Regions from separate parts of the Homo sapiens genome. Here region 1 is linked to region 2. The links are contacts of gene promoters, found by promoter capture Hi-C in human tissues and cell types (Jung and others, 2019). All regions are on one chromosome and are shown on one strand. The core of a region is centred on a gene start or on the middle of the fragment in contact, and the rest is flanking DNA. Distances in the headings are between cores, read along the strand shown.

Region 1 (6,384 bases), core at 2,393-4,892, 420 kb after region 2:
CTCATGAGCAAAAGCTCATCTGTATTTACAGCCACACCCCATCACTCACATTACCACCTGAGCTCCCTTCCTCTCAGATCAGCAGCGGCATTAGATTCTCATAGGAGTGCAAACCCTATTTTGAACTGCACGTGTGAGGGATCTAGGCTGCGTGCTCCTTATAAGAATCTAATGCCTGATTATCTGAAGTGGAACAGTTTCAACCCAAAACCATTCCCCATTGCCTGGTCCATGGAAAAATTGTATTCCATGAAACCAGTTCCTGGTGCCAAAAAGGTTGGGGACTGCTACTTTAAGGCATTCTTTTTTTCTGACTGCCTTTTACCTTTTCACTTTGTTTTCTACAGTTTTACTATGATATGTCCAGGTGTGGAGTTCTTTTAATTTATCCTTGTTAGAATTCACTAGACTTCTTGATTCTGTGGATTAAAATTAAGTCAATTTTGGAAAATTTCTAGACATGTCTTTAAATATTGTTTCTATTTCATTCTCTCTAATCTCTACTTCTGGGATGATAATTAAATATATAGAAGACCTTCTCACTATATCTTCTGTGTCTCTAGTCTCACTATATTTTCCACTCACTTTTCCTCTGGGCTTCATTCTACATAATTTCTTTTGACCTGTCTTCAGTTTATTAACTCTCCCTTTAACTGTATTGAATCTACTGTTAAAGTTTCCATTAAGTCCTTAAGTTATTATATTTTTCAGTCTTAGAATTTCTATTAGGCTGTTTTAAAAATCTGAATAATTCATGTTTACTGTTTCTAGTTTCTAGCTGAAATTGTCAGACATGACTTTTATTTCTTGAACACAGTAATCATAGGCATTTTACAGTCTATACCAGATAATTCCAAAATCCACAGTCATTGTGGCTCTTTCTGGTATTTCTACTCATCTTTTTCTACTATTTCTACTCATCTTTGCCCATGTTGCCCTGCCTCCTCATGTGCCTGGTTATCTTCTGTTCATGTGTTGGGTATTATATTGTAAAAGTTATTTAGAAATCATTAAACTAAGGATCATATTTTTCTTCAGAGGCAATTTTCATTTGCTTCTGCCCAACACTTGGGGGCACTAGAAATTCAGGATCACTTTAAGCCAGTGTTAGGGTTTGAGATTTTCTGGATTACCCAGATGACTCAGAGCAGGATTGCCACCCTTGGGAAAGCTGGTTTATATCCAGCTCACCTTTCATCTTTTGAGGTCCCAGCCCAGAAGAAAGCATTGTCACCTTCCACAGGCCTTGAACTTTTGCCCTCTTAGCACCAAAAGACCATAAAAAGTACAGACAACGCCTGTAATCCCAGCAACTTGAGAGGCTGAGGTGGGCAGATCAGGATTTTGAGACCAGCCTGGACAACCTGGTAAAATCCCATCTTTACTAAAAACATACAAAAATTAGCTGGGCATGGTGACTCGCGCCTGTAATCCTAGCTACTCTGGAGGCTGAGGCAGGAGAATCGCCAGAACCCGGGAGACAAAGGTTGCAGTGAGCCAAGATTTCACCACTGCGCTCCGGCCTGGGTGACAGAGTGAGATTCCGTATCAAAATTAAAAAAAAAAAAAATGTGCAGACAAGCCTCCTGTCTACCTTTTCCTGACTGGCAAATGCTCTGGGCGGACAAAAACTGCCCAGAAAGTGAGACTGACCTTGCTGGATTTCTATACTCTCACAGATCCTGGTCTATTTACTCCTCATTCTCTTCGTAGCTCTGTTATGCTTTAAAAAAAATTTTTTTATATATATTTAGTCTAGCAATTGTTGTTGCCTTGAGCTCAGGTTACCTAGTTTACCATTACCCTGCATCGTTTCCATTATTGTGGCTTTATAATATGTTTTAGCATCTAGTTCAGTGAATTCCTATCCACCCATTCCCTGTTTTTGCCATTTTTCTTAACAATTTTCACCTATTAATCTCTCAAATAAGCTTTATAATTATTTTATAACGTTCCTTTAAAAATCCCATCGGGAAGCCTCTGAATCTGGTAGGATTTCTGCTTGCGGAGTATTTAGACTCTCCACCAGGAACATTTAGGATTTCCACCCATTTATTTAGATCTTTTATGTCAATATTCTTACATATAATTCTTCCATATAGTTTCTTATTAAAGTTGTTTCTAAATACATAATTTTTTATCTCAGAAGCTTCCCGTGTGATATCACTATTTCTGCCTTCTCCATGCCTCATATTTTGTATTATTCAATCTTTTTCATGATGGTGCCAGCATTACTGTCTTCTAACAATGCCTGCTGATGTCTCATATCCGAAATCAGATGTATGGCTTTAGTCTTATCTTCCTTATAATGGGCCAGAAACCACCACTTTCTCCAAGTAGGTCAAATGCCCACCTTGTTTTTTCTCTTATCGTGGTAGGATGCTCAACATGACACTATCAGGCAACTAAACTAATGCATAGCACCTAGGAGATACTGGTTTTTAGGAATTGACATCAATGCAGGCCCTTATAGAATTACAAGTATTCATTTGCATTTTATTGGCCTAGCGTATATTTTATAACTGCCTCTGTTAATGACAGAGGTGTTGGCAACCACATTTTGACACTACCTACGTGATCTGGAAAGTTCTGCATACTCCTTGGACCTCCAGTTCCTCACTCAGATAACAAGGGCTGATCTGACTGAATGTTCTTCTGTCCTCTCCAGGTCTAATATTTATTATTTATCTCTCTTAAGAAATTCAAAAAAGTGAATACTAGGCATAATACCTTTTTGGGGTCCTGCCCCAAACACAGCACAGTATCTCACCCCAGACTCAAAGCCCATGAGCAGCCTGTAAGCCTAGCACTCATCCCTGCTTTCCTTCTGCCAGCTGCATGTTGACCTGCAGGATGAGCTAGGAGTCTTCTCCCTGAAAGGGAGGCCCACCACCGCGTATATCTACATCACAGAGGAAAATAAACCACATGTAAAAGGTAAGTGTGGGGAGGGTGCTTCTAGAGGGCAATGGATCTCAGTAGCTGCTTCATTAGGGGACCACTCAAGGCCCAGCCAGAGGGGAATGCCCAGTCTCGTCACCACTGGCCTCTAGCTAAGGCTCGTTCCCATTCTAGGGTTACTTTCCCTTCAACAGGGGTCTTTATAGATACACATTTCTTGAAACTAGTTCTAAATCATATCTTCTCTCTTCTCTTTGCAGCAAAGAAAGCTCACACAGCCTCCTTGGTTGTTTCTCCTGGAGATACAGCTGAATTTGATGTCGTTTTCCACTCCCAGAAGGTTGGGAGGATGAGAGGTATCATCCACTTGTCAGTGATCAACAACCAATATGAGGAGACCTCCATCCACATGGTGGGAGAGGGCTATGAGGATGACATCACCTTGGACAACATCCATGGACTGGTGGCCCCCACCAGCCAGGAAGACATAAGTATCTCTGAGTTCACAGAGATCATCGAGGACAATGATATGGAAGACTTGGTGGCAGGTGGGAGAAACAGCAGTGAAGTGTTGGCAAGTGTTGGCTACTGGGTCATTTGTTTTAAATGAGAGTAAATTTAAATAACAGGTTGGTTACCTCCCTGAGAATTTAGGACTGACTCTCCTCTTCATTACTCTATGCTCTGGCATGCCTGGCTCAGTCATGGCATCCATCCTTCCATTTATTCATGTGTTCACTCGATGAATATGTATTGATCACCAAGTACATGTTCCAGGCATGCTGATCCCTGGAGTTTCAAAATTAACAAGGAAGTCTCTACTCTTAAGGAGCTTATAGTTTGATATTCAAATTCTGGTTCAACTAATAAGCAAATAAATGCCTTGCAGTTTTTCCTGTCTGCATTTATTAGCTGGCTTGTGTTGGCATTGTCTGTTTATTAGAGAGAGTATAGGTTTGGGCACTTCTAGAACATCACTCTGCACAGCCCCACTACTCAATGAGCAGTTTGAGATCCTATGGCATCAGCATCACCTGGGAGCTTGTTAGAAATGGGGGTTTCAGACCCCCCTGCCCTACTGAATCAGAATCCACATTTTAACAAGGCCCCAGGTGACGTGTTTTTATACTAAAGCTTAAGACATGTTGTGCTGCAATCTATCAAGCACTAAAGCTTCATTTAGTTGACATTTTTGGGGATTGGAAAAATTTATCATCAAATTGTTATCATCAGAAGGCATTGGTTAAGCGCCCTAATTATGTGGTTGGTTGCTAAAAAGTGAGTTATAAACAGAGTCCCATAGTTTACCTAGAAGCTTAATTAAAGTCCTGGAATGTACCGTTAGGTGGTCTACACAACATGGGTTGAAATCAACACTCCTCATATACCTGGTGTTTCAGCCCTGTTTGAGGCTACAGGGTGACATCTCTCTTACCAAGGCTCAAGCAGGAGCCAGCAGTGAATCTAAGTTCAGAACTCAGATTTCATGCCCATAATAGGATTGCCAGAGTTAGCAAATCAGAATACAAGACTCCTCAATAAATTGGAATTTTGGTTAAACTATGAATAATTTTTAGTATATGTATATCCCAAACATGGCATGGGACATACTTATCCTAAAAATTATTCATTTCTTATCTGTAATTCAAATTTAACCAGGACTCCTATATTTTATCTGGCAATCCCAATCCTTTATAATATTTTCTCACCAAACAAATGGAGTTGGGGACCTATGTTTTCTCTTGTACAAATGGAGGTGAGGGCTAAGGTGGGTGAATGGATGATGGATGGATGGATGAAGGGATAGAGGGATGGATGGGTAGATGATAGATGAATGGGTGGATGGATACATGCATGCATGCATGGATGAGTAGATGATGGATGGATGGGTGGATGATGATGGGTAGATAGGTGAGTGGGTAGGTGGATGATGGGTGAGTGGGTAGGTAGATGATAGATGAATTAATGGATGGATGGGTGGATGATGGATGGATGGATGGGTGGGTGGATGATGGATGGATATATGGATGGATGGCTGCATGGATGGATGGATGATGGATGGGTGGATGATGGATGGATGAGTGGGTGAGCAGGTGGATGATGGATGGATGGGAGGGTGGATAATGGATGGATGGATGGATGGATGGGTGGGTAGGGAGATGATGGATGGGTGGATAGGTGGATGGTGGATGGGTGGATGATGGATGGATGCGAGGGTGGATGGATGATGGGTGGGTGGGTGGATGATGGCTGGATGGGTGGGTGGATGGATGATGATGGCAGGATGGGGGAGGGTGGATGGTGGATGGATGAATGGATGATGGATGGATGGATGGATAGGTGAGTGATGGATAGGTGGATGATGGATGGGTGGATAATGGATGGATGAGAGGGATGGATGGATAGATGATGGATGGGTAGATGATGGGTGGGTGGATGATGGATGGATGGATGGATGGATGGATGGATGGATGGATGGATAGATGGATGGATGGGTGGATAGATAGATTCCTTGAGGATAGAAATCTTGTTACTCAGAGATTCTAGGTTTCTCAAATATAGCCATCCAAGGATGGAAGGACTGCATGTGAGTGAAGCACTATGCCTCCTTAAGGCAGCAGGCCCTCAGGGGAGGCCAGGGAGGACTCACAGCCTTCTGCTTCTAATCCCTAGCTGCTCTGGTGGACCACATCCAATTTGGGGACTGCCACATTGGACACAGCTATAATGCGAGCTTCACAGTCACAAATCACAGCCAAGTGAACTTGATACGGTTTGAATGGCCTGTTTCAGCTACAATTGCTTTCTCCCCACAGGTAAATAAAAGTCATTCATCATTTTTTGGAATCCCTTAGTCCTAAGCCAACCCCAGACTGATTGTCAGCCCTTTCCCGTGGATGCATGGAATGGAATTAATGCATCTCAAGCTGAGAGACAGCCCAGGAATCATCCCTCACTCATACCTAGTAGCAAAGAACACTGTTCATGTCTCTCCTGGTTAAGAGGGGAAGACGGAGAATGAAGTTGACCAAAACTGTTGCTAGGCTGCTGTCAACGGGCCCTGTGGAGGCCTGTATAGATGAATACAGGTCCTAGTCTTCCTATCCCAGATTGTAGAGCTGTGTCCTCCTAGGTGTGTGTCCTTTAGAGTATCAGTCCTTCAAAATGCTTCACCAAAAGCTAGAATGGGGGTGATGGGTTCTGTGGACAAGTGAGATTTAGAAAATGTTCCAAGCTCCATCCTTCCTTAAATATTCCTGGTTCTCTTTGGCATGTTAAAACCTTGTTAACTTTGTTTTACCTGGAATTTTCTAACCTCTTCTTTTAGCATCTCCACAACACACATTTTTTTTTTGAATTGCTGACTAAAGCTTGACATTGAACAAGGCCTAGGATAACGTTCTAGAAGATCGTTGCCTCTGGCCAGTGGTTGCTTTTTGTAGATAGTTCATTTCTGAGTTCCCAGAGCACTGGCACACCCCA
Region 2 (6,295 bases), core at 98-2,597:
GGGTTAAAATGCATGTCCTCTTTTTTTCCCGAGACGGAGTCTCGCACTGTCGCCCGGGCTGGTGTGCAGTGGTGAGATCTCGGCTCGCTCCAACCTCCGCCTCCCGGGTTCAAGCGATTCTCCTGCCTCAGCCTCCCAAGTAGCTAGGATTACAGGCGCCCGCCACCACGCCTGGCTAATTTTTTGCATTATTAGTAGAGACGGGGTTTCACTATGTTGGTCAGGCTGGTCTCGGACTCTTGACCTCGTGATCCGCTCGCCTCGGCCTCTCAAAATGCTGGGATTACAGGCGTGAGCCACTGCGCCCAGCCAAAGTGCATGTCTCTTTTCAACGTTTGCCTTCTGGGCTAGGCGGCTTGGCTCATGCCTGTAATCCCAGCACTTTGGGTGGCCGAGACCAACGGATCGCTTGAGTCCAGGAGTTCCAGACCAGCCTAAGATAGGGAGATGCCATCTCTCTAGGAGGATCGCGTGAGCCCGGGGAAGTTGAGGCTGCAGTGAGCCGAGATCGAGCCACTGCACACCAGCCTGGGTGAGGGTAAGACCTTGTTTCAGTAAACAAACAAATAAATAAGTTTGCCTTCCGTAAGGTTTCTAATAACGTTTTTCTTCCATCCACAGATGTAAACCTGTTTCCCCATAGTCACACCAACAGTGGTCATTACCAAGGTTTTACATCTTTGCTAAACCGAGTAAAAAGAAAACTTGCTGTTTTCATTTCCATTCTTGTCTAATAATAGTTTAAACAGTTTTGTATATCCTTAGTGGCTATTTGTTTGACTTTTTTGTTTTTTGGGAGGCCTGTTCTAATATTTGCTCATTTTCCTTCTGGGGTTGTTGGCCTTTTTCTTATTGGCTTATTAAGCAACATAATTAATATATATTATGTCATGTATATATAAACAATCTTATCTTGCAGTTCCCTAGTTTGGCTTTTAACCTATCGTCTTTTGAGCTGCAGTTTCAACCCAGTCTGTACAGGAAGTAACAACTGTCCAGAAGAGTCTGAAAGCCCTTGGGGCCAGCAGCCAGTGAGCGGAACCAGCACGTCCTGACAGACAGGTTTGCCCCGTCCCTTCCCTCCCTCCCCCTCCCCCTCCCCTTCGCCTCCCTGTCCCTCTCCCTTTCACCCCTCTTCGGGACGGAGCCAAAGAATGCTCCGCCTGCGCGCGCCGCTTCCGTTGCCATAGTGGCCGGGGGCGGGAGGCTGGCGCCTCCCAGCTTCTGTACTCCGCGAAGCAAAACCTAGGGAGCTGAGGCCTAGGCGAGGCGAGAGTCGCCGGCGTGCGTAACGTTGGCGCACGTGACTCCGGCCCGGCCTACAGGGCGCGTGCGCAGTGGGACTTGAGTGCCTCCTGGTCCCTGTCTGCCGGCATTCGCGGCTGCGGGGCCCGGAGGTGGGACTGGCTTCCCGGTGCCGCGAGGGCGGGTCCGGACAGCCTTCCCCCCAGTCCGGCGCACCATCTCCCTGCCTTGTGGCTGGAGGCGCCGCGGACCCAAAGGGAGGGACCATCCCGGGAAGCAGCCCCGAGAGCGGAAGTGCAGAATGGCTTCCTCGAGAGAGTAAAGTGCAGCCTCTCCAGACACTGGGGCCCCAGTGGGCGTGGGCGAAGGTAATCCAGGCCTGGGTACGATTCCGGGCCCTCCTTCGACTTCCCAGCGGGTGAGCCAGGGGCTGGGACTGAGTTTCCTCCAGGTCAGGGACCGGGCCTCTGGAGTGGGGTTTGGGACTTACTTCACTAGATGAAATGAGATATGGGGTGCCCGGCCCAAAGTCAGCCCTGGATACTCACTGGCCGTTGTTTTCACAGTTGCTGGTAGGAGGAGTTGGCGGAAGCACTTGGAACTCCTTTATAAGTGTCAGCTGTGAGGTAAAAACTGTTGATGAGATCTTGTGGGTTTTGTTTTGGGTTCACTAATTTGGGCGGGGGCTACATAACTGCCTACTTGAGTTTGCAATATGAGAATGGTAATAGCGACCCACTTAGCAGAATTATGATGTCACAAAGCTCAAAGGACTGTTTAATGAAAGGCTCAGAGGATCATATACTGGAAAATTTTTCCACACACGCTGTAAGCCACATGCTTTTTTTTTTTTTTTTAAGTCATGCATTTAAGTGCTGGAGTGAAGTTGAGGTGCACTATTAATGACTCATATTCAGAACCTGAAGAGAGAGATCCCTTTTGTGCTAAGTATGATATCCACTCATTTATTCAGTAATACTGAGTGCTTACTGTGTACCAGGCAATGTCCAACTTCTTGGAATGGTCTATGTGTAAACAAAACAAAGATCTCTGTCCTGTGGAGCTTACATTCTAGTTTGGGGAAGACAAATAATAAACAGTAAACAAAAAGAAGGAAGTTATAGGTTGGAAGTACATGAGTACCATAGGAAAAAAATACAGCGAGGTAAGAGGCATGGGGAATGCAAGATGCAATCTTAGGTAGGCTTCACTGAGAAAATGACATTTGAGCAAATATTGGAAGGAGGTGAAGGAGTTAGCTGTGCTGACAGCTGGGGAAAGAGCATTCCAGGCAGAGGGACCACCAATGCAGAAAGACTTTTGTCTTGGAATGTGCTTGGTGTCTTCAGTGAACAGCAGAAAGGCCTGTTTGGCTGGAGTAGTGAGTAAGGGAGTAGTAATAAAAATTAGGTGGCAACACAGCAAAAGTATAGTCAGAACGGTGGAGTGTCTGAATCACTTAAGTTGTCCTCATGTGAAGGTAATTTCCTATTAGCTTAGGTAAGGTTTCACAGCTTAACTACAGCCGTTAATTAGTATGTGAAGTTAATGATTAAAATTAGACTTTTTCCGAAATAGAGTATAGATGAGATCTAAACATGGCTGTAGTTTCCAGCAAGCACAATGCGAATTAAGACAGAGGAGCTTGTTGAAAAAAACTTTTATATGCCCTTATTTTAAGATTTTAGTGAATGTGGAAACACCTCAGTTTTGTCTTCCTTTAGAAATTTGTCTAAATATAGCTCTACCAGTAAAAAAGAAACAAACAAAAAACAGGCATAGTGGCTGACACCTGTAATCCCAGCACCTTGGAAGGCCGAGTTGGAGGGATTGCTTGAGCCCAGGATTTTGAGACCAGCCTGGGCAACAGAGCAAGACCCCATCTCCACAATTTTTTTTTTAACTAACTGGGTGTGGTGGTGCACGTCTGTAGTCCCAACTCCTTTGGAGGCTGAGGTGGGAGGATCCTTTGAGCCTGGGAAGAGGTCAAGGCTGCAGGGAGCTATGACCTGTGCCACTGCACTCCAGCCTGGGTAGCAGAGTGAGACCCTGTCTCAAAAAAAAACTTTTTTTTAATATAAATATACCGTGGCAAACAAATGACTAAGAAGACACCTGTTACTTCAAGGAAATTACAAACTGGTAGAGTAGACTTGCAAATAATTTAAACAAAATAAGAAAGAATGAAAAAAGTGTGCTAAAAGAACAGTACAAAGTAAATGCTAAAAGAAACATCATCTGAATATTATTGTATGTATTACAGCAGTAGTTCCCTTTGTTTCTCATTTTGTCCTTGAACATCTGCTTTTCTGGAGTGATGATTTGATTGCCAATTTTTTCATATTTAACAAATTCAGATTTTTTTGAAAATCATTTGTAGAATGCATTGTGTATGCTAAATAAGTGCAGAATTTGTGAACTAAAGCATCTATTGATTAACATTGCACTAACAGGTACCATGTAATATTCATTGCTCTCCCTGCTGGAATTTGTAACTTTTCCAAAACTATGCCATTAAGCCATACTTCTCATATCCTTTTTCCTCTTCAGAAGGAAGAGGTTTCTTTGTTTCTGGTTTCTTTGGCAGTGTTGACTGCCAGAGTATGTAGAGTGACTATTTGTAATTTGTATATTCAATATGTATATTTCTTCAGTATAAAATTCTGCTATCCAAGTGTTAAGTTTTAGTGGCTAGAAGAAATAATGATATGTTATGGTGGAAGTGTGGAGCTGTCTGAACCATATGAAAGCCAGGAATCTATAGTTTGAGACATACCGGGTAAACAGTTGGTCACTTTCAGCATCAAGCAGAAAAAGGCTAACCACTCAAGTACAGCACAGTTTACAAGCAGTATGATGATGAACGTTAGTTGATGACCTGTATAGGTGATTGGTACCACCAAAGTGCCTGTCTTAGAGAATGAAATCTGGACAGAGGATGTATTCAACAATCCTACTAGTGAGGTAAGTGGCTTGTGGCAGGATCAGTACTGGGTTCAGGTACATGATCCTCTCCCTGAAGGAGGTAAAGTATGACGGGAACTAAAAAAAAAAAAAACGAAAAGTCACATGTTAGAGCTTGAACAAAGGTCATGTCCAGGGATGAATCTCTAAGGATGGATTTGTTTGAGGTCATGTAGGTGTTGTCACAGTCATTGGTAGGGAAGAACTTTGGGGAAGAGTTAGATGGGTTACTATGATAATCAGAGCTGTCATTCACTGATGATTATGCTTTGTTATATGTTTTTTATATGCTAGTATGTTTTATCTTCTTCTTAAAAAATGATAGGCTTTTTTTTTTAATGAGAAGAAACCAAATCCAAGAGATGGAATTTGCCCAAGGGTGCTTATTAAGCCATAATTAGCAGAGCTGGAATTTGAACCCAGGTCTTGGATATCAAAGCCTTTTTCATTATTCCAGATTACTTGGTTAAATAACAGAGTATGCTGACTTTAGCCTTCCCATTTTATGGAGTTTGTCATGAGTGTGATCGTATTTGCTGCTCATGAGATTTCGCTCACTAATAAATTTGATTCATTTAATTATGTGTTTTCTCTTCCTAGATTTTAATTTGATTTGAAAATGAGTAAGTGCAGAAAGACACCAGTTCAGCAGCTAGCAAGTCCCGCGTCATTCAGCCCAGATATTCTTGCTGACATTTTTGAACTCTTTGCCAAGAACTTTTCTTATGGCAAGCCACTTAATAATGAGTGGCAGTTACCAGATCCCAGTGAGATTTTCACCTGTGACCACACTGAACTTAATGCATTTCTTGATTTGAAGAACTCCCTAAATGAAGTAAAAAACCTACTGAGTGATAAGAAACTGGATGAGTGGCATGAGCACACTGCTTTCACTAATAAAGCGGGGAAAATCATTTCTCATGTTAGAAAATCTGTGAATGCTGAACTTTGTACTCAAGCATGGTGTAAGTTCCATGAGATTTTGTGCAGCTTTCCACTTATTCCACAGGAAGCTTTTCAGAATGGAAAACTGAATTCTCTACACCTTTGTGAAGCTCCAGGAGCTTTTATAGCTAGTCTCAACCACTACTTAAAATCCCATCGGTTTCCTTGTCATTGGAGTTGGGTAGCGAATACTCTGAATCCATACCATGAAGCAAATGACGACCTCATGATGATTATGGATGACCGGCTTATTGCAAATACCTTGCACTGGTGGTACTTTGGTCCAGATAACACTGGTGATATCATGACCCTGAAATTCTTGACTGGACTTCAGAATTTCATAAGCAGCATGGCTACTGTTCACTTGGTCACTGCAGATGGGAGTTTTGATTGCCAAGGAAACCCAGGTGAACAAGAAGCTTTAGTTTCTTCTTTGCATTACTGTGAAGTTGTCACTGCTCTGACCACTCTTGGAAACGGTGGCTCTTTTGTTCTAAAGATGTTTACTATGTTTGAACATTGTTCCATAAACTTGATGTACCTGCTAAACTGTTGTTTTGACCAAGTCCATGTTTTCAAACCTGCTACTAGCAAGGCAGGAAACTCCGAAGTCTATGTGGTTTGCCTCCACTATAAGGGGAGAGAGGCCATCCATCCTCTGTTATCTAAGATGACCTTGAATTTTGGGACTGAAATGAAAAGGAAAGCCCTTTTTCCCCATCATGTGATTCCTGATTCTTTTCTTAAGAGACATGAAGAATGTTGTGTGTTCTTTCATAAATATCAGCTAGAGACTATTTCTGAAAACATTCGTCTATTTGAGTGCATGGGAAAGGCGGAACAAGAAAAGCTGAATAATTTAAGGGATTGTGCTATACAATATTTTATGCAAAAATTTCAACTGAAACATCTTTCCAGAAATAATTGGCTAGTAAAAAAATCTAGTATTGGTTGTAGTACAAATACAAAATGGTTTGGGCAGAGGAACAAATATTTTAAAACTTATAATGAAAGGAAGATGCTAGAAGCCCTTTCATGGAAAGATAAAGTAGCCAAAGGATACTTTAATAGTTGGGCTGAAGAACATGGTGTATATCATCCTGGGCAGAGTTCTATTTTAGAAGGAACAGCTTCCAATCTT

What was found. Contacts are between HindIII fragments. The study calls those that stand out against the background at their distance.
Region 1: a contact is called between a fragment that was not itself captured here and the fragment with the promoter of CMTR2 in region 2, in 2 of the 25 tissues and cell types used here (mesenchymal stem cells and thymus).

What each region holds. Positions count from the first base shown.
Region 1 is chr16:70,871,370-70,877,753 of GRCh38, reverse strand. HYDIN (HYDIN axonemal central pair apparatus protein) reads left to right here. Exons shown (of 86, transcript NM_001270974.2): 63 at 2,835-2,937; 64 at 3,162-3,449; 65 at 5,575-5,717. Among named protein-coding and RNA genes, the nearest start is that of VAC14, 73 kb to the right of the region's middle. The HindIII fragment of the contact is 3,204 bases long and covers 2,041-5,244 here.
Region 2 is chr16:71,284,454-71,290,748 of GRCh38, reverse strand. It overlaps CMTR2 (cap methyltransferase 2), which reads left to right and starts at 1,347. Exons shown (of 3, transcript NM_018348.6): 1 at 1,347-1,613; 2 at 1,812-1,871; 3 at 4,810-6,295. The coding sequence starts at 4,829. It overlaps LOC102723786 (a long non-coding RNA gene), which reads right to left and starts at 1,949. Exons shown (of 4, transcript XR_933707.3): 1 at 1,794-1,949. RefSeq lists silencers at 1,075-1,144, 1,225-1,594. The HindIII fragment of the contact is 7,661 bases long and covers 1-5,398 here.